Linked DNA regions of Homo sapiens: regions 2, 3 and 4 are each linked to region 1. The links are contacts of gene promoters, found by promoter capture Hi-C in human tissues and cell types (Jung and others, 2019). All regions are on one chromosome and are shown on one strand. The core of a region is centred on a gene start or on the middle of the fragment in contact, and the rest is flanking DNA. Distances in the headings are between cores, read along the strand shown.

Region 1 (6,150 bases), core at 2,373-4,872:
AACAACCACTGCCTGAGGCCCCTCCCAGAGGCTCCAAACATCCCATAGTCCACCGACTGACACTTGGGCCTGAGGGTCCCAGGTGAGAGGACCCAGCTGACTTGGCATCCAACTTCAGGCCACGCGGCTGTCAGAGAGCAGCAGTCAGAAGCACAGGATCCAATCCTGGCATGCGTGGGGGCAGCATGTGCACTTCGTTGTTGGGCAGCAACCTGGCCCAAGGCAGGACCAGATCCCAGCAGCTGGGACCACAGACAGTGCTGTGGGAGGCACTCAGCAATGGGGCTTACACTGACTTGTGTCTTTGAGATTCGCGTGCAATGCGCCTTTGAGGCCAAGCCCCAGGCTCTGGGTAGATAAGCAGACAGCCTGAGACTCACTCTCAAGGACACTCTGGTCACCCAGGGCCCCTGAGAATAGATACGGGCATCACAACTAGACAGGAGAAAGGTCAGGACCACAACTGTAGCACGTGCCACAACATCAGGGACCTGGCCAGTGGCTGGCGCAGTAAGTGCCCCTGGTGCATCTGAATGAATATGGCTGTTGCAGCTTTGCCCAATCTGCTGTCTCATGAACTCCATGTCCCCAGGCAGGGTTTCCAAGCGCCTCCTAACCCTTCTGCGGGAGGGTTCTGGCCATCTCCCAGTAAACACACAATTCTCCACCGCCGCCTGCAGATTTGGTCCACTCCCCAGCTTGGCATTCACAGCGCCTGGTCTGGCCTCAACTTCTCAACCTCACCTCTCTCCACGCTGCAGCCACACCCTCTGCTCCTAGAGCCGCTCTCATACTTCTGTACTCCTCAGGGCCTTTGCTGTTCTGAGTTCCTCCACCTTGAACATCCTCCCTTCTACCCTGATCCTGTCAAAACCCAACATCCCTCAGGACCTAATATCATTCCCCATCCCCCGGGTGAAACCCTTTCCAGGCTCTCCCATGTATACCTTCCGACAGCACTTTCTTTTTTTTTTGGAGATGGAGTCTTGCTCTGTCGCCCAGGCCGGAGTGCAGTAGTGCGATCTCGGCTCACTGCAGCCTCTGCCTCCCGGGTTCAAGAAATTCTTCTGCCTCAGCCTCCTGAGTAGCTGGGACTACAGGCACACGCTGCCATGCCCGGCTAATTTTTTGTATTTTTAGTACAGAGAGGGTTTCACCGTGTTGCCCAGGCTGGTCTCGAACCCCTGAGCTCAGGTAATCCACCCAAAGTGCTGGGATTACAGGCGTGAGCCACCGTACCCGGCCTAGCACTTTCTTTTTTTTTTTTTTTTTTTGAGACGGAGTCTTGCTCTGTCACCCAGGCCGGAGTGCAGTAGCGCGACCTTCGGCTCACTGCAAGCTCGGCCTCCCGGGTTCAAGCCATTCTCCTGCCTCAGCCTCCTGAGTAGCTGGGACTACAGGTGCCTGCCACCACACCCGGCTAATTTTTTGTATTTTTAGTAGAGACGGGGTTTCACCATGTTAGCCAGGATGGTCTTGATCTCCTGACCTCGTGATCCACCCGCCTGAGACCCCCAAAGTGCTGGGATTACAGGTGTGAGCCACCGTGCCCGGCCAGCACTTTCTTTTCCTGTTAATATACTGTCATGCTGGGTGCGGTGGCTCACGCCTATAATCCCAGCACTTTGGGAGTCCGAGGCAGGAGGACTGCTTGGGCCCAGAAGTTTGAGACCAGCCTGGCAACATGGCGAAACTGCATCTCTACAAAAAATACAAAAAATTAGCTGGGCATAGTGGAGCATGCCTGTTGTCCCAACTACCCGGGAGGCTGAGGCTACTGGGGAGGATGAAATGGGAGGATCACCTAAGCCCCAGGAGGTTGAGGCTGCAGTGAGCTGTGATCGTACCACTGTACTCCAGCCTAGGAGACCCATCTGGGGCAACACAGCAAGACCCCACCTCTACATAAAATTTAAAAATTAGCCAGGTGTGCTGGCACTCACCTGTAGGCCCAACTACTTGGGGGTCTAAGGTAGGAGGATGGCTTGAGCCTAGGAGTTCAAGGCTGCAGTGAGCTAGGATCGCTCCACTGCATCCTAGCCGGGGCGACAGACAGACATCCTATCTCAAAAAACAAACCAAAAAAACCCCATGAGTTTTGGGACAGAGCTGGGCTCAAAAGAGGTCTCTGACACCATGGGATGCATGACTATGGTGGAGTCAAAACTGTCTGGGGCTCAGGTTCCTTATCTGTAAAATAAGGACAATGACAGCAGGACTTCATAAACACTAAATGAGAGACTCTACATAAAGCCTTAGCTCAGGGGCTGGCACTTGTACGCCGTTAGCTGTTACATTATCCTTATTACTATGTTAGTTAAGAAGTGGCTCCCCGAACCAGCTGCAACAGAGTCACTTGGGGAACTTACGTGTGCAGAACCTCCAGGGATAGAGCTCAAGAACCTGAACTTTTTTTTTCCCCCTCTTTTTCTTTTTGAGAGAGTTTTGCCCTGTCGCCCAGACTGGAGTGCAGTGGCACAATCTTGGTTCACTGCAGCCTCTGCCTCCTGGGTTCAAGCGATACTGGCGCCTCAACTTCCCAAGCAGCTGGGATTACAGGTGTGTGCCACCATGCCTGGCTAACATATGTATATATTATGTGTGTGTGTGTGTATATATATATATAAAATACATGATATATAAAAATATATATAACATAATAATATGTAGTATACATAAATGTATACGGTATATATAATACATATATATAATTTTTTTTTTGAGACGCAGTCTCACCCTGTCGCCCAGGCTAGAGTGCACTGGCGGATCTCGGCTCATTGCAACCTCTGTCTCGCGGGTTCAAGCGTCTGTCCTGCCTCAGCCTCCCGGGTAGCTTGGACTACAGGCGCGCACCACCCCACCCGGCTAATTTTTTAAATTTTTTGGTGGAGACCGGGTTTCATCATGTTGGCCAGGCTGGTCTCGAACTCCTGACCTCGTGATCCGCCGCCTCGGCCTCCCAGAGTGCTGGGATTACAGGCGTGAGCCACCGCGCCCAGCCAAACCTGCACTTTTAAAGCTACCCTAGGTGACCTGACAGTGTGGCGCAGGTCTGTTGACTGGCTCTACGTGCCAACGATATCACACAAACGCTCCGTGCTCGGTGTCTCGGGGCCTAGTTCAAGTCCCAGGTCAGCCACTTCCCTGGAAAGGCCAGCTTTCCACTGGGGATAACAACAGGGCAGCAACATCGACTCTGCAGCGCTGTAAGGTTCCAGGGCAGGGGAGGCGCTCACCAGCCAGACTCATGCTCCACCGCTGCCCACGGCTGCTCGCTCACACGCGGGCTAGGCACAGCGCGACCACGTTTGCCCGGCCTCTTCCAGGCAGACGGTTTTCCCTGGCCCTGAGGCCGCCGGTGCCGCCGCTGCCGGCCTCGATTCCCCCGGGTGCAACGCCCCCAGACCATGCTTCCCGCCGGGCACGCAGGGGGCGCACGGCGCCCGCCGCCCAGCCCGGAGCTCGCCGCCCGGCCCCCGGCCCCCGGCCCGACTCGGCTTCCCCTCCCCGGTAGCGCCCGACTCGGGGCTCACCATGGCAGCCGCTCTGCCTCCGGGGCTCAAACTCCGACTTCCTGGCCCCGCGGCCGGGGATCAAGCGTGGTCGGCGGGTCAGAGGTCAAGGAAAGCCGCAGAGAGCGCGTGCGCGATACGGCGCTGGGCATGCGCATTGCCTCAGTCTAAGGGCGGGCCACCGGGAGCGTCTTAGCGGCTCGGGGCGGGGTCGGAGGCGGGGTTTGACTGAGCCTGCGTCGGGCTCTGGATAACTGGGGGCGGGCTTGGGAGGGCAAGGGGCGTTACCGGGAGTCTCAATTGCCCGCGTGCTTACCCCAGTGCGCTGGAGCAGCTAAGCACATCGGTCAGACGTGGGGCGATTTCTGCCCTTGATTTTGCCAAAATATTTGGGAATGCAACATTATATGAAATCAATGAACATAATATGGAGTAGGATGCTAAATTCTCAAAAATACTTTAGAAAATAGAAAACTTCAAAATAGGTTTCATCCACATTCCTCCTGCCTGAGAAGCTCGTTCCCTTCTTCAAATCTTTGCTCAAATGTCACCTCAATGAGGCCCACCTGGACCCCTTAAAACGCCGTGACTTGCCCTCCATGAATGAAAAAAGTAACAGCTTTATTGAGATATAATCCATACACTGTAGATTTCATGATTTTCAAGTGCACAGTCCAATGCCTTTTATTCACAGAGCTGTGCCACTGTCACCACTATTAGTTCCAGAACGTTTTCATCACCCATTAGTCACTCCCCAGCCCCCTCCCCCAGCCCCTGTCAACCACTCATTTTTCTCTCTATGGATTCACAGGTTCCGGACATTTCATAGAAATGGAATCATACAAGCCAGGCGTGGTGGCTCATGCCTGCAATCTCAAAACTTTGGGAGGCCGAGGTGGATCGCTTGAGGTCAGGAACTCAAGGCCAGGCTGGGCAACATGGTGAAACCCCATCTCTACAAATACAAAAATTAGCCGGGTGTGGTGGCAGGTGCCTGTAATCCCAGCTACTTGGGAGGCTGAGTGGTGGATCTCTTGAGCCCGGGAGGTACAGGCTGCAGTGAGCTGTGATCACTGCACTCCAGCCTGGGTGACAGAGTCAGGCCCTGCCTCAAAAAAAAAAAAAAAAAAAAAAAAGGTAAAAATGAAAAATGAAAAAAAAGAAGAAATTGAATCATACAATGTGCAGCCTTTTGTGACTGGCTTATCCTCCCTTCTTGTCTCTATTTTTCTTCCAAGACTCTGATCACCCTCTACCATACCACATAATTTACTTATTTATTTTATTTATCATTTTGAGACAGGGTCTCACCCTGTCGCCCAGGCTGGAGTCCAGTGGCACAATCCTGCCTCACTGCAACCTCCACCTCCCAGGTTCAGGCGATGCTCATGCTTTAGCCTCCTGAGTAGCTGGGATTACAGGCATGGACCACCATGCCCCATTAATTTTTGAATTTTTAGTAGAGACAGGGTTTCACCATGTTGGCCAGGCTGGTCTTGAACTACTGGTCTCAAATGATCCACCCGCCACAGCCTCCCAAAGTGCTGGGATTATAGGCATGTGACACTGTGCCCAACCGGTTTTTTATTTTTAAATTATTTTTCCTTTTTTTTTTTTTTTTGAGATGAAGTCTTGCTCTGTCACCCAGGCTGGAGAGCAGTGGCCCAATCTTGGCTCACTGCGATCTCCACCTCCTGGGTTCAAGTGATCCTCCCACTTCAGCCTCCGAAAGTGCTGGGATTACAGGTGTAAGCCACCGTGCCCAGCCAAAAAAAAATTTTTTTTTTTCAAGATAGGGTCTCACTCTGTTGCCCAGGCTGCAGTACAGTAGCATGATCATGGCTCACTGCAGTCTTGACCTTCCAGCCTTGAGTGATACTTTCACCTCAGCTTTCTGAGTAGCTGGGACCACAGGCATGTGCCAACACATGTGGTTAATGTTTGTTTTTTGTCTTTTTGAGAGCGTCTCCCTGTTGCCCAGCCTGGAGTGCAGTGGCATGACCTCGGCTCACTGCAACCTCTGCTTCCTGGGTTCAAGAGATTCTCTTGCCTCAGCCTCCTGAGTAGCTGGGACTACAGGCATGGGCCACCATGTCCGGCTAATTTTTTGTATTTTTAGTAAAGACGGGGTTTCACCGTGTTAGCCAGGATGGTCTCGTGCTCCTGACCTCGTGATCCGCCTGCCTTGGCCTCCCGAAGTGCTCGGATTACAGGCGTGAGCCACCGCGCCCAGCTAATGTTTGTATTCTTTGTAGAGACAAGGGTTCCCCTATGTTGCCCAGTCTGACCTCAAACTCCTGGGTTCAAGCAATCCTCCCACCTTGGCCTCCCTTTATTTTTATGTTTATTGTTGAGAATCTGTTTCCTTCCACTAGAATGGGAGTTCCTTTTGGGCAAGCATTTCCTCTCTCTTCTCTGCTGTTAGATGTCAAGCGCCTGGAAGAGCATCTGGCGCACAGCATTCGGCAAATGGTGGGATGAAAGTTGGGCCACCTGGAATCCTACTCTACACCGCTGCCCTTCTTCCTCTTCCTCCTGGCCTCCACATTCCTCTCTCTGTGCCCACATTGTACTTCCTTGCCTCGGAAGTGGCTCTCTCCCTGGCTGGCTCCTCATCAGCCTTCAAGTCTTGGCTCTT
Region 2 (6,150 bases), core at 1,830-4,329, 440 kb before region 1:
GAAGTTCCCCAGAAGACCTTTGTTCGTGGAAGTGATGAGGCTGTGATTCCATTTGTGTGGCGCTTTCTCTCTTTGCCCCATGCCCCCCTCTCCCCTCTGTGATGTCCATGGGCAACGGGGGGCCTTGGAAGAACCTGGGAATGAGGCTGAGTCCCAGCCTGGAGCCTGCATCTCATTGCCTGTAGAGCGAGGCCGCTCTCGTCACCTCCTGCCAGTTGTCATGAGGCTCAGATGAGGTGATGGGGAGAGAGGATGCAGCACAGCAAACTGGGCTTTCGACCCGGGAGGGGCCACGTGGCTCATCTACAGGCTTTGCCACCACTAGCAGGCAACTCTGGGCAAGCTGGGTTCTCAGAACCTGGATTTCCTCTTGCTAAGAAGTCGTGAGCATCTAAGGAGCGTAGGCGCTGCCCACCGAATGGTGGTTACCAGATCATGGAAAGCAATGAGCTCAGTGCCTAGTGCATAATGGGGGCCCTGCGTGTGAATCCTTTCCCTTCCTTAGGGCCACTCGGTGGTACATGAAGAAGCCATGAGAGCAGGGATGAGGCTGCCTTTGAGTGTCCTGGGCTGGGTGGCCATAGGGTAGACTGCAGGGGGCCCAGGTGGGGACCGGCATCCATGAACTGTGTCTTGGTCACCAACTCACTGTGAATGTATGGCTTCTACTAACTCTGAGGCACATGGATGTTTAATGACTTGCCCAAGCCCAGCCCCAGCTGAAACTGCAGCGTCCTGTCTACCGTGGGCTCTAAATGATGATGAAATCATGTTTGGTCCACAAGACTCATGACCCTTAGAATCCCTTAAACTGCAGCATGCATGATTTTGTGCATCCATGCACAGATGCGTGGACTGTCTAACAGTTCTCTTTTTGGGATAATTTTTTTTTTTTTTTTGAGACAGAGTCTCGTTCTGTCACCCAGGCTGGAGTGCAGTGGCGCAATCTCAGCTCACTGCAACCTCTACCTTTCAGGCTCACGCGATTCTTGGGCCTCAGCCTCCTGAGTAGCTGGGACTACAGACATGCACCACCATGCCCAGATAATTTTTGTGCTTTTTTTTTTTTTTAAGTAGAGATGTGGTTTTGCCATGTTGGTCAGGCTGGTCTTGAACATCTGGCCTCAAGTGATTCACCTGCCTCAGCCTCTCCCAAAGTGCTTGGATTACAGGCGTGAGCCACTGTGCCTGGCCTGCAATAATATTTAAAAAAAAAAAAAAAAGTAAGACTAGTCAATTGCAGCAGTAAGAATTTTTTTTTTTTTTTTTTTTTTTTTTTTTTTTTTGAGATGGAGTCTCACTCTGTCGCCCAGGCTGGAGTGCAGCGGCATGATCTCAGCTCACTGCAAGCTCCGCCTCCCAGGTTCATGCCATTCTCCTGCCTCAGCCTCCTGGGTAGCTGGGACTACAGGTGCCCGCCACCATGCCCAGCTAATGTTTTGTATTTTTAGTAGAGACGGGGTTTCACCATGTTAGCCAGGATGATCTCGATCTCCTGACCTCGTGATCTGCCTGCCTCGGCCTCCCAAAGTACTGGGATTACAGGCATGAGCCACCGCACCCAGTCTTTTTTTTTTTTTTTTTTTTTTTTGAGACGGAGTTTTGCTCTTGTCTCCAAGACTGGAGTACAGTGGCATGATCCCAGCTCACTGCAACCTCCGCCTCCTGGATTCAAGCGATTCTCCTGCCTCATCCTCCCGAGTAGCTGGGATTACAGGCGCGTGCCGCCATGCCCAGCTAATTTTTGTATTTTTAGTAGAGACAGGGTTTTGCTATGTTGGCCAGGGTGATCTCGAACTCCAGACCTCAGGTGATCCACCCGCCTTAGCCTCCCAAATTCCTGGGATTACAGGCATGAGCCACTGTGCCCAGCCAAGATTTTTATTTATTTATTTGATTTTTTTTAGAGACAGAGTTTCTCTCGGTCATCCAGCCTGGGGTACAGTGGCAAGACCATAGCTCACTGCAGCCTTGAATCCCTGGGCTCAAGCAATCCTCCTGCCTTAGCTTCCTGAGTAGCTGTGACTATACATGTGGACCACCACGCCCGGGCAGTTCTAACTTTTTCTCATAGAGACTGGGCACTAAGTTGCCCAGGATGGTCTCGAACTTACAGGCTCAAGCAATCCTCCCACCTCTTCTTTCCAAAGTGCTGGGATGACAGGCGTGACCCACTGTGCCTGACCAAGATAAATACTGAATGCTTAGCGCCAAATAGCAGATGAATAAGGAGGGCTGATGTCTGCAGGGTTTACCCCATTGCGTTGTACAACAGGCCTTGGCAGCCCTAAAACAAGCAGACGGGTTGTTTGTCACCGGGATCAGGAGACAGCAGAGCTTTGTCAAGCTGCCTTGCTGGGGTGAGCTGCAGTGGGAGTTGGACTCTCCCACGACACAGAGACGGATGCAAGATCCAGGACTCGCGCCTCCTTGGTGCTCTCCTGCTACCTGGTGGCCTCTTCTTTCCTTTAGTCCTCTGTCCCTCTTCCACTTCTCTCTGCCTCCTCCACCCGTTCCTGCAGGCGTCTGGCCATCACCTTCGATGGGTGCTTCTGTTCATCTTTACCACTCTGAACCCTCCAAAATAGCCCCCATGCAAACCAGGACGTATATGACCTCCCACGGGCAACAACAACAGCGGAGTTTACCTACTTCAATTGCAAGACGCTCCTTGGAGGGTAGAAACAGTTCTGGGACAAACGCATTTGATGTGAATGGGCCCCACTCTCTCCTGATCCACAAAGCTTCCTGTCCTGCCCTCTTGAGGGCCCTGACCTCATCCTTCCCTCTCAGTCCAGCCTCTCTCGGGAGTTTGACTTGTATGGTGCAAATTGAAGGCCCACATAGAGTAAGAATGGATCTTGATGGGGTCACAGCACACCTGGACTGATGGCGAGAAGTCCAGCCCTGTAGAAGTAGTCCTAGGGCCACACCATGACAATTAATGTGCAAAACGTGGCCACCCCTCTGAATGGTGACAATGGTGACAATAGTTGGACCATCCTCCAACAGCAGACACCCACTGAGTGCTTACCCTACCGGGAGGGCTGAGTCAAGCTCTCTCTACGCATGATCTTGTTGACTCCTCACAACCGCTCTGGGAAGTAGATGCCCCTATTCCCCTTTTACGAATGGATCACCCTAAGCTCAGGAACATATCCAAGGACAGCAGGACACCAAGGCCCATCCGATCTCACAGTGACAGCATTGAGTCCCACACCGCACAGAGGGCGGGGCTGGCACACTCCCCACAGCGTGGGGAATCTGCACTTAATTGCATAGCAGGGAGTGATCACACAAGTTCTGTCACATACCAACACTGCACGCCCCTCTGGCTCTTCCACCACGAAGCACGTCCTGGTGATGGACGCAGGGCAGGGAGAGGAGGAGAGAGGAGACCTCGGGTTCTGCCTTCCCCAGCCCCTCTCTGCTGGGCACATGGAGATCCACCTGGCAGTTGGCCCCTCTGGGCCTTGAGCCAGTCTGGCACAGGCAATGTACCGTTCGGTGGCATCTGGACCCATGTTTGTGCCTTAAGCATGACAGGTGGCCCTGGCTCAAACTTCCTGGGCTCCTTCTCCCTGTTTCCTGATGGGGGAAACCCTAGTTTTGGGCCCAGGCTGGGACCTGGGATGGACTCAGATGCTTTGGAAATGTATGTTGGGCTGGTGGGTCGGGCCTCACCAGAAGCTTGTGCACAGGCCAAGGAGCTTCCAGGAAATCACTCACCCGTGGAAGGGAGGAGCCAGGCCCAGTGAGCTGACCTGGAATAGTTAGTTACATGGCCTATCACATACCAACACCGCACACCCCTCTGGCTCTTCAGACCCTGTGGCATACGTAGCCAGGGAGCAGGAGGAACCTGGGGGTGCATATACGCCATAAGTAAAGATGAGCTGATTTACCCTATAAAACAGGGCACAGACACTGCTTTGGTGATGATAGTAGCCACCAGTAGTCCAGAGAGAGCAGATGCAGCCTGGTGAAGCCGTAGCAGCCAATTTGTTTGAGTGCACACATAGACACAGCCTTCAGTGACATCTTCTCAGGGGCTGTAGCAAGGTCAGGGTGAGAGCTGGCCGGGTTATGACTGCCTTCTTCCCATGAGGGCAGCATGCACCAGAGAAAGGACATGGGCTCTGGGGAGCTTGGTTCTTTTTTTTTTTTTTTTTTTTTTTTTGAGACAGAGTCTTACTCCCATCACCCAGATCACCTAGGCAGGAGTGCAGTAGCACAATCATGGCTCATTGCAGCCTTGACCTCCTGGTATCAAGTGATCTTCCTGTCTCATTTTTTTTATTTTTGGTAGAGACAAGGTCTAACTATGTTACCCAGGATGGTTTCAAACGCTTGGACTCGAGTGATCCTCCTGCCTCAGCCTCCCAAAGTGCTGAGATGACAGGCATGAGCCACTACACCTGGCCGGGAGCTGGATTCTAATCTCATTCGCACCACTTCCTTGTGTGTGATCTGGGGCAAGTTAATTAAAGACTCTTAAACTGGGATGTGAATGCCGCTGCCTGCTGTGGTTTAAAATATATCCACAACAAACTCTTTGATATTCCTCCCTTTAAGAGGTGGAGCCTCATCCCCTGCCGTTGAATGTGGGATGGAATTAGTGGATCACTTCTAAATGATAAGGCAGGGGTGACACTGTGTGACCTTGGGGACTGGTCATAAAAGGCCTGTGGGTTCCTACTTTTTCCCTCCCTTGCTCTCAGATCCCTCCTCTGGGGAAAACCAGCTGCTATGTCATTAAAACAGCACTGTGTTGGCCACTGGTGAAGACCAAACCCTCCAGCCAGCAGCCACAAGAAGGCGCCATCTTGGAGGTGGCTCCTCCAGCCCCAGTTGAGCCTTCAGATGATAGCAGCCCCAGCCGACATCGTAAATGCAACCTCACAAGAGACCCCGAGCCAGAACCACCTGGATTAAAACGACCATGATGTTCCTGAATTCCTGACTACAGAAACTGTGAGATAATGAATTTTTGTTGTTTTAAGCTAATATGTTTTGGGGGGTAACTTGTTACACAGCAATCGATAACTGATAGACTCATCTGCAGGTACGTGCCAGGATTTACTGAGCCAACATACACAAGGCGCCAGATGTCCACTGGACCCTCAGTCTGATCAGCTCCTTGCCACACTGAGGTCTCAGCAGCCCCTTCCTCATGGCGGCAAGGTTTGGACTGTGGTTATGCCCACTCAGGGTCCGGCCCTCCAGCCAGGTTCCTGGCTGCCCCCTCCTTTTCCCCAGGCTTGCCTTTCCCCTGGCCTTGCCCACGAGAGACCCTGTCACACTGGGGAGGCCTGTGCTCTCTTCTAAACAAAGGATCAAAGAAATCGGTTTGTATGCTGTTAAACATTTAAAAAAATTTTTTTTAAAGAGATGGGGCTCTTACTATGTTGCTTGGGCTGGACTCGAACTTCTGGCCTTGAGCAATCCTCCCACAGCAGCCTCCCAACTACCTGGGACAACAGGCACACCACTGTGCCTAGATCATATCACTTTTTGCACAAAACCCTTCCATGGTTTCCCTTTACCCTTACAGTAAAAATCCCAACCCGTGGCCGGGCGTGGTGGCTCACGCCTGTAATCCCAGCACTTTGGGAGGCCAAGACAGGAGGATCACGAGGTCAGGAGATCAAGACCATCCTGGCTAACATGGTGAAACCCCATCTCTACTAAAAATACAAAAAATTAGCCAGGCGTTGTTGCAGGAAGTCAGGGACCCCAAATGGAGGGACTGGCTGAAGCCATGGAAGAAGAAGGTGGATTGTGAAGATTTCATGGACATTTATTAGTTCCCCAAATTAATACTTTTATAATTTCTTATGCCTGTCTTTACTGCAATCTCTAAACATAAATTGTAAAGATTTCATGGACACTTATGACTTCCCCAATCAATACCCTTGTGATTTCCTATGCCTGTCTTTACTTTAATCTCTTAATCCTGTCAGCTGAGGAGGATGTATGTCACTTCAGGACCCTGTAATAATTGCATTAACTGCACAAATTGTACAGCATGTGTGTTTGAGCAATATGAAATCTGGGCACCTTGAAAAAAAAACAGGATAACAGCAATTGTTCAAGGAATAAGAGAGATAACCTTAAACTCTGACCACCCGGTGAGCCGGGCAGAACAGA
Region 3 (6,150 bases), core at 1,401-3,900, 300 kb before region 1:
CTCCTGACCTCAGGTGATCCGCCCGCCTCGGCCTCCCAAAGTGCTGGGATTACAGGCGTGAGCCACCGCATCCGGCCAGAGTGTGTTGTTTTCTCATTGCAGTCCCTAACTTGCCCTGAACCCTCCCTTACCCAGGTAGCCACGAAGCATCTGGTGACTGAGGCCTGGGAGTGAGCCCTGGAGGTTCTGGCTGACGCTCTGCCGTGACCCACTTGGGGCTTCTGTGACGTCCCCTTCAGCCTGACAAGAGGACCCAGTTCTCCTCTGTGCTCACCCTGAACAAAACAGGTCCTAGTCTGGGAAGGGCGCCAAAGAGAGATCTTTTCACTGGTTTCTGTTCCCTGTCATTTTTGGGGGAGGGTGGGCTGGGGAACACAAACACCCAATAATTGGAAATTGTCAGACATACAAAAAAGAAATGTAATTAGTCATAAACCCTATTTTAAGGTTATATTTGCACTGCCATTTTAAAATGAGAAAACACTAATAACATTAAAATGAAGTCTTTGTTAAAAGTAACCATGCATTGTTCAAATTTCCATTTGTTCTTTGTTTGACAATGAAAAATCATTCTAAATTAGTTCCATACACTTACTGTGAAACACAACAGTTTATTCCTGGGTCACATTCTCCCCCTTCTGTGGTTTATATAACTTCTCTTTGTTCCGCAAATGGCAGTACAATGGCAAACAAAATAAAATGGAGTTTATTATGAAAATGGATCCATTAAGCTACCTAAGAATAACATAGCCCTACAACTCCTGCACTTGTAGAGGGACACGGGTGAGATGAAACGGACGTCAGTACCCCTGCAAGAATCACACAGATAGGCCCCTCGGTGCACCTGGAGAGGGAGGCCACAATGGCAAATAATAGGAGACACAGCGATGCCCCACTCCCTTCTTTCCCAAGAGCTGCCATTTCTGCCCTTGCTGGATAAGCTCAGTGTCTCACACAGCGTGAGCGTCCACTAGATGCTGGCTTGGACAGGCGATGCTGAGGGTTCCCATAGACGGCACTCTAGTAGGGCTGCTCAAGTCCCTCCTCACAATCCAGAGGATCTCACCTAGGCAGGGCCCATGGTCACTCCCCAGGAGAAGAGCCAGGAATGTCCCCATCAAGCAAAACCCCTGGTCTCCAGCTCACAACTCAAAACCCAAGCAAATGAAGGAAAAGCTCCTGGGACCATCAGGACTCATAACGACCAAGGGTCAGTCATGGTATCAGGAAATCGTAATCCTGGCTCAGAAAGGTTTTAAATACAGGGAAGCAGAAGGCTGGGGCAGCAAAGGACACTACTAAGAGCAAGCGACTCACAGGGCTCACCCGGAAGGCATTACAAACTGGAATTCCTAAAAGAGTGGTTGCCAAGCTCACCCAGAAGAGGAGGTCCCACTGGTCCCTGAGTCTGCTCCAAACGGCCACGCACAGCGTGGGCATCCTCTCCCCTGCTTTCCATTGCTGTACAGAACCTGACCTGGGACCAGAGAGAAGAGGGTCCAGGGAAATGCTGCTGAAGGCTTCGTCTCTGCAGTGGAGAGAAAGTCGGAAGGGGCAGCACCCACCCCTAGCTGCCCATAGATGACCAGGCACAGGCACCCACCACCGACACTGGCACAATCCCCCAACATGTTCTCAGACCAGACCAAGACCCTAGCCGAGCCCAAGGATGCTGGCTAATCAAATAGTAAACACCTTTGGCCAGATTATCCTTAAAAAGTCTCTGGAATGTCACCTTCAGTCTCTGTAGTCTACTTTCTAACATACTTCTGAGCCGAAACCACGTGAAAAGATTTTTCTTCTGACTACAAGGCAGAACAATAAAAGTGACCCTCTGAGTCAAAAACACCACATGAAACTCACCTCCCGCCTCCAACCCATCCCTTCCGCATCCTTCATGTCCACCGTCCCTTTACCAACAACCAGCTGATTCTTCCAGACTTCAAAATCTTTCAGATTAACCCAGAAATATCGATAAGGGAGGCCTTTTTCTTAGCTTATGTTGTATATGTTTTTCTGTTTAGGCTACTGCTATAAAGAACTATCCACCAGCCTGGGCAACAAGGTAAGACCGACCCTGTTTCTACAAAAAATACAAAAGTAGACGGGCATGATGGTGTACACCTGTAGTCCCTGCTACTCAGGAAGCTAGGGTGGGAGGACTGCTTGAACCCAGGAGTTAGTGGCTGCAGTGAGCCGAGATCACACCACTATACTCCAGCCTGGGTGACAGAGTGAGACTGTGTCTCAAAAAAAAAAAAAGAACTATCCCGAGAGTCCACTGTTGGGGGCCGAAGTGGGGGTGGGGACCCTTGGCTGCCATGTTCCTGGGCCAGGAACATGGACTGGATGGCCTGCATGTCAGAAGACTGGTGACATACAAGGGTCAATAAATAAAAACAGTTAATATGATAAGAGCTGTTACTGTTATTGTTAGAAAAGAGGGGCACAGCCAAGGAAAGGGGAGAAAGCTGAAACAAACCATTTGACTTGGATGGTATCATGATTTTTATATGAGATGAATGGATACATAGATACGAGCGGGACAGATGGATACAAAGAACTACAAACGCATGTGTGCCCGTGTGTGTATGTACAAACATATGTGTACGTGTAGGGAAGTACATGCATATGTTTAATTTCCTAGCTATGCCAGGCGCGGTGGCTCATGCCTGTAATCCCAGCACTCTGGGAAGCCAAGATGGATGGGTCACCTGAGGTCAGGAGTTTGAGACCCAGCCTGACCAACATGGTGAAACCCCGTCTCTACTAAAAATACAAAATTAGCCGGACGTGGTGGCGCATGCCTGTAATCCCAGCTACTAGGGAGGCTGAGGCAGGAGAACTGCTTGAACCGGGAGGCAGAGGTTGCGGTGAGCCAAGTTCCTGCCACTGCATGCCAGTCTTGGCAACAAGAGTGAAACTCCGTCTCAAAAAAAAAAAAAAAAAAAAAAAATTCCTAACTACGCTGCTTGAGAAGTCCTTGTAGCCGTAATAGCCCAGTAGCGTGAACACACCTAATACTTAGATCCTGGTTTCTAAAAACCACTTTCTACTAAAAGGAACCAGGGCTTATTGGAGAAATGGCTGATTCCAGGGCTGGAGCAAGGAAAGTTCCGGGTGAGCCTAGAACCAAGAACTAAACATGTGGCCGGGAGCAGTGGCTCACACCTGTCATCCCAGCACTTTGGGAGGACGAGGCAGGCAGATCACCTGAGGTTACAAGTTGGAGATCAGCCTGGCCAACATGGTGAAACCCCATCTCTACTAAATATACAAAAATTAGCTGGGTGTGGTGGCGCACGCCTGTAATCCCAGCTACATGGGAGGCTGAGGCAGGAGAATTGCATGGACCCAGGAGGCAGAGGTTTCAGTGAGCCATGATCACGCCATTGCACTCCAGCCGGGGCAACAGAGTGAGATTCCATCTCAAAAAAAACAAAAACAAAAACGAAAAAACCTGGCCAGGCATGGTGGCTCTCACCTGTAATCCCAACACTTTGGGAGGCTGAGGCAGGCAGATCACGAGGTCAGGGGATTGAGACCATCCTGGTTAACACAGTGAAACCCCGTCTCTACTAAAAATACAAAAATTAGCCGGGCGTGGTGGCGGGCGCCTGTAGTCCCAGCTACTCGGGAGACTGAGGCGGGAGAATGGCGTGAACCCGGGAGGCGGAGCTTGCAATGAGCAGAGATCACGCCACTGAACTCCCACCTGGGCAACAGAGCAAGACTCCATCTAAAAAAAAAAAAAAAAGAAGAAGAAGTAAAGATGTGCTCAAAGAATGACATGAACACATCAAAAGAACACAGGGGCCAGCTTGGAGGCGCTGCTTTTGGCCAAATCTGGGACAATCTGGGTATCGAAGCAAATGATAATGGTAATGAATTATAACCCAATGGGTAAAATAGGAGTCTATGAGTGTATTGATAGGAAGGAGAGAAAGACAGCAGGCAAGCTCCAGCTTGCAGTGGAATGCCAACTAATCAATGCAAAAGAAACAATGCAACTAGAAACATCACCATTTGGCAATGCTCATACTAATTCCCTCAGGCAAGAATCATCCCAGGATGCTAAAACAAATGGGCAAAAAGCTTAATGAGAAACAGGATATTTTCCGAGTCCCCAAAAAATCTCCCCACCAGAAACAGTACTTTTTAACTGATAATTACAAAATACCAACAAATTAATTTTACAGTGGAGAAACCTGGTAGACACCACCTCAACCAAATGATAAGTTAACTTCTCCAGAAATGGGACTGATCAGACCTGTGTGCGTTCCTGTCGTGACAACCCTGCAGGGACTCTCCTGCCAGGAACCTACCACCTGATTCTCATCATGAAGGAATATGAGACCAGCCCAAACCGAGGGACATTCTACAAAGTAACTGGCCTGTTCTCTTAAAAAAATGTCAAGGTCGTGAAAGACAGAGACGAAGGAACAGCCCCAGATTGAAGGAGACTCGAGAGCCATTGACACAGACGGCGCCTGTGGTCCTGGGCGGGCTCCGGGGCCTCTGCATTTGGTGGCATGGTGTGACAGTGCCCACGTCCTGATTTGGGCAGGTCGGTGCAGGCTATCCGGGACAGCGTCCTTGTTTTTAGGAAACCCACACAGGAGAATCTAGAGGCACTCTCTGCAGTCTATTCTCAAATTATTCCGGAAAAAAGGGATGTGTGTATGTGGAGAGACAGACAGACAAACATGTCGGAATGTTAATTCAGGGAATCTGGGTGAAGAGTATTTGGGAATTCTTTATACTGTTTGGGAGCATCTCTGTAAATTTAAACTTACTTCAAAATTAGAATATAACGCCACCAAAACCCCCTCTATCACTCACTCCGCATTCCTAGATAACAACTAGTGTGGAATTCTGTTCTTTGAATCACTAGATATCAACTAGCGTGTAACTCTGTTGTTTGAAGCCACCTGGTTTGAGGTACTTTGGTACAGTAGCCCTAGGAAATAAATATGCTACTCAAAGAATATTGAATGTGGCTTTTTCTACAATACTAAAATCTGACCTACCATGTTAACTTAGTAAGGCAAACTGCTGGGGCGGGGTCCCGTTTCAGCCGAACGCATCTGACAATGCCTTAAGTCACACATTGCATAATCACAAGTTGCTTCTTGACATGAGCGGCTCTTCAAGTGCACGGGGAACAACAGATTCTTTGTCAGGGACTCACAAGAGTCACATGCTGTTATTCTTTTCTCCTTAAGAGACAAACTGATTTTTTAATCACTGAGAGCCTATTACATGCGTGGCATAGTTTTAAGATGTTTTGACATGTCACACGTAAACGATAGTAAACATGTCTTGGAAGAGGGGCTAAGATGTGGGACGAACGTGATTATTCAATGGGCATGCGCTTCCGGCCACGCATCACACGCACATACACCAGCGCGGTTATCCATAACTCTACCATTTCAAGTGAGCCGCAAGAGACTGTAAATCGCAGTGAAGTGGGCCGTCAGGCAATGATTACTAAATAAGCATGGGAAACATCTAAGATTAACAGTGAAGAGAGAAGATGCGTTTGGAATGGAATCCTGGAGACAGTTAAGTTACCAGGTGCTTTCACAGTCGTTTTTTCAAATTCAGTCACTGAGACATAAAATAATATTGATCTTTGAGAAGAGCTCTCGACGGAAACAGCAGTTGGCAGTGTCCCCAGAGCACTTGCCCTTCCTCTGGAGCGCTTCACGTGCGAGCCCGCCGTCTATTTATAACAGTTGGGCACTTGTCGCCACAATGGCTGATTGTGTGGCCCAGCTGTCTGTGTCTATCAAGAAGGGCAGGAGTGGACAGCCTGCACTTTGATGTTTCCCTTTTTTGGAGACTGAAAATAACATTTTTAAAAAACTGCCAACCGGCAAGGTCACAAAATATTTTTGGATGGCACGGGGACCCGATTGCAAAGCTGTGGTTCACATCAGATGCGGAGGCCTGGGACGCAGCCAGTGAGCCCCATTGCACAATATCCTGCTCATGCCAACTTCAAAAGTTATTTGCCTCGGAGAGCTCCCAGACGACTCTTTCTCGGTAATAAAACACAGCATTTTAGAAATTTGCAAGGGTCTTCTGGATAGGGCATTACCCAGAGGAGCAAGGATTTCCCTGGCCACTCTGGTTACAGTTGCAACC
Region 4 (6,150 bases), core at 1,204-3,703, 280 kb before region 1:
GGCTGGTCTCGAACTCCTGACCTCAGGTGATCTGCCCGCCTTGGCCTCCCAAAGTGCTGGGATTACAGGCGTGAGCCTCCGCGCCTGGACTAAGGCCCATGACTTTAGCAAGCGGGATGTTGTTTTCCACCTCCTGCTGCTGCCTCTTAAGGAACAGGGGCGCTTCTTCACCGCAGAGGAGACGGTTCTCCATTCTAGGAATGGGTATGAACTTGCCTGAATAGTCTATGATGGGCAATGGGGACGTTCCATCTACATCTCATTATGAAAATCCCCAAAAACCTTACAAAACCATATAATCGTGAAGTTTTAAGAAGTCTTAAATAGTTCTAATATATAATTCTCCACAAATCTTTTCTCTCTAAAAAACACTTATTTTTCTCATTTTGATATGCCACTTCAAAGCTTTTCCCACTCCTTGAGTATATTTACTTTTCTCTCTCCTCTCTCTAGTGACTGAGCAGTGATTTTACCTTTACCTATTTATTTAGAGATGGAGGTCTCACTCTGTTGCCCAGGCTGGAGTGCAGGGGCACGATCAGGGCTCACTGCAGGCTCCACCTCTCAGGTTCAAACAATCCTCCTACCTCAGCCTCCAGAGTAGCTTGGACCAAAGATGCATGTCACCACACCCAGCTAATGTTTTTATTATTTGTAGAAATGAGGTCTCGCTGTTGCCCAGGCTGGTCTCAAATGCCTGGGCTCAGGTGATCCTCCCGCCTCAGCCTCCCAAAGTGCTGGAATTATAAGTGTGAGCCACAGCTTCCCACTAACAATTTCACTTTTTAAAGAGATGGGTCATATTGTCCAGTAACATTTACATGAGATCCATGAAAAAAAAGTGAATATTATTCTTTAGAATAATAAACAATTCATATCACAAAATTAGCTTTAAAAGATTCCCGCTTGTAGGAGCTATTAGAATTTCAAAACTGCCCAGTTAAACATAACCTGGTTCATCCCAACGTTTTCATTTACATATAATTCAAAAAGATTTACTTTTCCATAAATTTCAAATGCTCTTCAGATGAAGGAAACATTCATCATTACATCAAAGCAAGTGCAACTTCAATACTAAATTTCCTGATCTTTTATACAATTAGACTGCAAGTGCTCATCTGAGACAGATTTAGAGAAAATTGCGGCTGATGCCCAGCTCTATGAAAGAGTTTTAAGAACTGAAATAACTTAAAAAAAATTAGAATCACAGAATGGGGGGAGATGAGAAAAAATTCATCCTAAATTAGAAATACGAACTCCTGCCCAAAGTGCAGGGTTTTTAAAAAATGGAATTGTTAAACAGATTGAAATAATATTTAGAAACAACACCAGCTCACAAGGGTAGTAAAATACTAATTCTTAAAATCGTTAAACAGATTGAAATAATGTTTGTCAATAACACCAGCTCACAAGGATAGTAAAATACTAATTCTTAAAATCCTCCCTCTTGCGCTATGCCTGCTTCTGAGTTGGCTGAGCAAGTTCCTTCCCTTCCCCAGGCTTCTAACAGTGAACATGATCTGGCAGCATTAGACACACCACAACTCCACTCCAGACCAAGATGGGTCTGGGTCAAACCCAGGACTTCTGCTTCAAATTAGGAGAGTTACCAAATTAAGACAATTCTGCCTCAACTGAGTCACCCTCCAGGGACAGCTGAGTCCATTTCCAGGGTAAGTACTGGGGTAGCTCTACCCACCCCAGAGAGATGTATTTTATGGTCTGTCCTAAACAGAACTGGACCCCCAGAGAAGTTCCGAGATCAGCACAGCCTGCAGCTGACCCTCGGGAGAGGGTCAATTCAGGGCATTTGCTGACCAAAAGGATGGATCTCCCTCACCGGGAGGTGGACTGCAACCTCCCAAACACTTTGCCACTGTAGCTAATGTGTGCAAACATTTACTTTGTGAATTTGTATCTTAGTAGCTTCACTAAGTCAGCAAAATCCAATCTCTGAATCTTTTTGTGGTGACTGAACTAACTCTATGTTGCACTTTTGGTGAAAAACTGCAACATAGAATTTAATTAATTCTTTAATTAAATGGGTTAAGGGAAAAACCGTGGCAATAATTTTTTTTTTCCTCTTTCACTTTTGGGATTTGAGGTCTTCAAATAAGTTTTTCTAATTGTAGGGAAAACAAAGTCTTTTAATAATTACCATTAATGATTTATAATTTAAGCAGTTTAGGAAATAAAAAATGCATAGAACATGATATTCTCATACCCAGACAAGCTCATATCCCACCTGCACCCCTTTACAGTCAAGGATGATTTTGCATCTCCTTTCCTCACTTAAGTGCCTTTTTTGCCAACTAGGATAACTCATATAATGAATTTTTGCCAACTAGGAAAACTCATATAATGGCTTTTTTTAAATCTGGTTTTTCTAATAATAAAATCATATCTGTTGCAAAAAAAAAACAAAGCAAAAAAAATATTAGTACAAGTTCCTCTAATCCCACTGTAAAGAACACGCGCTATATATAAATTTGTATATATCCTTCAATGCATGTATTATTATCTCTCTAGACCCACATTATTAAACACGCTATTTTATGGAAAATGAGATCATGTTTTACATATGGTACAGTTGCTTGCTTTTTTCAATTCACAGTTCATGGCCGGGCACGGTGGCTCACACCTGTAATCCCGGCACTTTGGGAGGCCTAGATGAGCGGATCATGAGGTCAGGAGATCGAGACCATCCTGGCTAACACGGTGAAACCCCGTCTCTACTAAAAATACAAAAAAAAATTAGCTGGGCATGGTGGCGGGCGCCTGTAGTCCCAGCTACTCAGGAGGCTGAGGCAGGAGAATGGTGTGAACCCAGGAGGCGGAGCTTGCAGTGAGCCAAGATCGAGCCACTGCACTCCAGCATGAGTGACAAAGCGAGACTCCATCTCAAAAAAAAAAAAAAACAATTCACGGTGGCTCTTTTGCACATATGGGTACACGCAGATCTATCTCATTCTTACAAATGGTTACAACTATTCCACCATAAGGACAGACCATAATTTCCACCTAATAGATGTTCAAGTGATTTCCCACTTTCTGCTATTACAAGAAAGACAGTAACCAAGATTCTCATACATACATTTTTGTACTTGTGCAAATATTGCCATAGGGTAAATCCCTAAAAGTGAAAGGACTTGGTCAAATGGCATGACATGTGAAATTCTGAAGATATGCAAAATGTCCTCAAAAAGGTTTCTGCAATTCGTAGTCCCACCAACAGTGTTTCAGAGGGCCTGCGTTCCCTTTCCTCTCACCACCAACAACTAGAATCAATTTTTTCATCTTTACGAATCAAAGAGATTTTTCAAATTTTTTTTCTTATTTCAATATGCTGTTGTTGTAAGTTATTATTATTATTATTATTATTATTATTAGGGGGATTGTACATTTAGCCCACCGCACACTAGCTGCATGACCTAGAGAAGTAATTTAATATCCCGGTTCCTTGGTTGTAAAATGCAGATAATGAAAGTAACATCTACTTCTCGGGGGAGCCGTGAAGATGTAATGAGCGAAGGCATCTCAGACACTTGGTGCCGAGTCTGACAGAGTGGGGCTTCAACAAAGGTTGGAAGAACAACGAATAAATAGAATATATTCTATGAACAATGAATAAATGGAATATATTCTATCAGGGTGACTTACCAGAGTTACCTCACTCATCACCAATTTGGCTGCTGTTCAATTTTTGCTATTCTCAATTATATTCGTATCATTGAGTAAATTATTCTCTTGTATCTACAGGACCATCTTCTAAGGCGACTCTCCCAGGATTCGGACAGTGTTACAGTTCTTACTTCTGTTCTTTAGAAGAAGTGAACCAGCAACAACAGGCCACCCATCAAGTTTTAGAAAATTTTCTCTGCCTTAAAAAGTATATAATGCGGCCAGGCATGGTGGCTCACACTTGTAATCCCAGCACTTTGGGAGGCTGAGGCAGGTGGATCACTTGAGGGCAGGAGTTTGAGACCAGTCTGCCCAAGATGGTGAAACCCTGTCTCTACTAAAAGTACAAAAAAATTAGCCAGGCGTGGTGGCACATGCCTGTAATCCCAGCCACTCAGGAGGGTGAGGCACAAGAATTGCTTGAACCCGGGAGGCAAAGGTTGCAGTGAGTTAAGATTGCGCTACTGCACTCCAGCCTCGGCAACAGAGTGAGACTCTGTCTCAAAAAAATATGTATGTGTGTGTATGTGTGTGTGTGTGTGTGTGTGTGTACTTTTAAGGCATTCTCTTTTGTACTTTTAAAATTACTAGTAAGGACATACATTTCCATATCACTCACTGTTTGTTGTATAGAAAATAAGCTTTATCGTTATAATTTTCACGCATATATTTTTCTCCAAATTATGACCTGGAAAAAAAACTTGCAGCTAGTAACTGGAAAACTGGGTAACATATATTTATAAAAGACAAACACACATGTATTTCTTATATGTGGCTTTTCTCTACCAGTAAAGAATAGGATGTGGATGAAAGTTTCAAATAATATTATGTTATAAACCTTATATAATTACTGAACTCAACAAAACTTTTGAAAAATAACCAAGTAGAAGTTATTTTTAGAAACCTGGAATGTCATTCCACCTAACAGAAATTAAAACTGGCTGGGCCTGGTGGCTCACACCTGTAATCCCAGTGCTTTCGAAGACCAAGGCAGGAGGATCGCTTGAGTCCAGGAGTTCAAGTCCAGCCTGGGCAACATAGAGAGATCCTTTCTCTTTAAAAAGAAAAAAGCGAAGTGCAGTGGCTCACACCTGTAATCCTATCACTTTGGGAGGCCGAGGCAGGAGGACTACTTGACCCCAGGAGTTCCAGACCAGCCTGAGTAACATAAGACCCCATCTACACACAAAAATACATAAAAATGAGCTGGGTGTGATGATGCATGCATGTAGTCCTAGCTACTCAGGAGTCTGAGATGGGAGGATTACTTTGAGCCCAGAAGGTCAAGGCTTCAGTGAGCCATGATCAGACCACTGCACTCCAGTCTTGGCAACAGAGAGAGTCTCCGTCTCAAAAAATAAAATAATAATAATAATAAAAACCAAGATAAATAATATAACCACAACTTTTCTTGACCCATCAAAGAGGCGGGGTTACAAAGTAACCAAGTAGTAGCCAGGCGTGGTGGCTCACACCTGTAATCCCGGCACTTTGGGAGGCCCAGGTGGGCAGATCACTTGAGGCCAGGAGTTCGAGGCCAGCCTGGCCAATATGGTAATATCCCATCTCTCCTAAAAATACAAAAATCAGCCAGCCATGGTGATCCATGTCTGTAATCCTAGCTACTCGGGAGGCTGAGGCGGGAGAATCAATTGAACCCGGGAAGCGGAGGTTGCAGTGAGCAGAGATGGTGCTACTTGCACTCCAGCCTGGGCAACAAAAGCGAAACTCAGTCTCCAAAAAAAAAAAAAAAAAAAAAAAAAAAAAAAATCAAAAAAGTTGAAAACAGATCAATATCTGGCATTGAGGCTTTTAAAAAGTCAAATCCAAAATTCCTTATAAAGGTTCCTGCAAAGCCAACTTAAAAAGGGTCCGTATGGTGGATCACAATTCTTGCTACATTTGATGCAAATCTTCAGGCCAAGTATAAAGCAACTAAAATTTGTTTTGCAAATAAATTGGTCTTACTATTATATATATAATTTATCCCTGGTAGAAATGGGGAAACTGGAGAAAGAAAAATTTAGATTCTAGCCTTAACCATTGTTTGTGAGTTTTTATTATCTGCCTACAATTTGGGCTAATCCTGAACCATTTCCTGGCTGCAACAAGTCTCTAAAGAAGAACCGAGTTTTAATTTTCATCATGATGCATTTTAGTTGGCTTCTTAACAGAATACGTTCTTTTTTCATTGTTGTTCTGGCCCACGAATTCTGGGTTTTTTTGTTTGGTTTTTGAGACAGAGTCTCACTGTCATCCAGGCGGGAGTGCGGTGGTGCGGTCTCGGCTCCCTGCAACCTCCACCTCCCGGGTTCAAGCGATTCTCGCGCCTCAGCCTCCTGAGTAGCTGGGATTACAGGCGATTCTCTTTCTATTGCAATCTCTGTGTGCACAGAATTCTACTATCCGAGTGATCGATGTTATATATCTCACATTGTTTTGCCTATTCTGACAGAACCAAAGCCACTG

Evidence for each region. The method cuts DNA at HindIII sites, captures the fragments that hold promoters and counts their contacts. A contact is called where the count stands out against the background at its distance.
Region 2: a contact is called between a fragment that was not itself captured here and the fragment with the promoter of PAM16 in region 1, in 3 of the 25 tissues and cell types used here (H1 embryonic stem cells, dorsolateral prefrontal cortex and mesenchymal stem cells).
Region 3: a contact is called between a fragment that was not itself captured here and the fragment with the promoter of PAM16 in region 1, in 1 of the 25 tissues and cell types used here (dorsolateral prefrontal cortex).
Region 4: a fragment that was not itself captured here is called in contact with the fragment with the promoter of PAM16 in region 1 in 2 of the 25 tissues and cell types used here (liver and stomach).

Annotation. Positions count from the first base shown.
Region 1 is chr16:4,347,699-4,353,848 of GRCh38, forward strand. It overlaps PAM16 (presequence translocase associated motor 16), which reads right to left and starts at 3,623. Exons shown (of 5, transcript NM_016069.11): 1 at 3,534-3,623. The coding sequence starts at 3,536. All of the region lies in intron 27 of CORO7-PAM16 (CORO7-PAM16 readthrough), which reads right to left. RefSeq lists an enhancer at 1-151. The HindIII fragment of the contact is 27,496 bases long and covers 1-6,150 here.
Region 2 is chr16:3,912,327-3,918,476 of GRCh38, forward strand. No RefSeq gene overlaps it. Among named protein-coding and RNA genes, the nearest start is that of CREBBP, 35 kb to the left of the region's middle. The HindIII fragment of the contact is 5,064 bases long and covers 548-5,611 here.
Region 3 is chr16:4,047,782-4,053,931 of GRCh38, forward strand. All of the region lies in intron 2 of ADCY9 (adenylate cyclase 9), which reads right to left. It overlaps LOC124900373 (a long non-coding RNA gene), which reads right to left. Exons shown (of 2, transcript XR_007064957.1): 2 at 2,491-6,040. Among named protein-coding and RNA genes, the nearest start is that of ADCY9, 66 kb to the right of the region's middle. The HindIII fragment of the contact is 8,638 bases long and covers 1-6,150 here.
Region 4 is chr16:4,065,914-4,072,063 of GRCh38, forward strand. The region is part of intron 2 of ADCY9 (adenylate cyclase 9); the gene reads right to left. Among named protein-coding and RNA genes, the nearest start is that of ADCY9, 47 kb to the right of the region's middle. The HindIII fragment of the contact is 6,066 bases long and covers 1-5,486 here.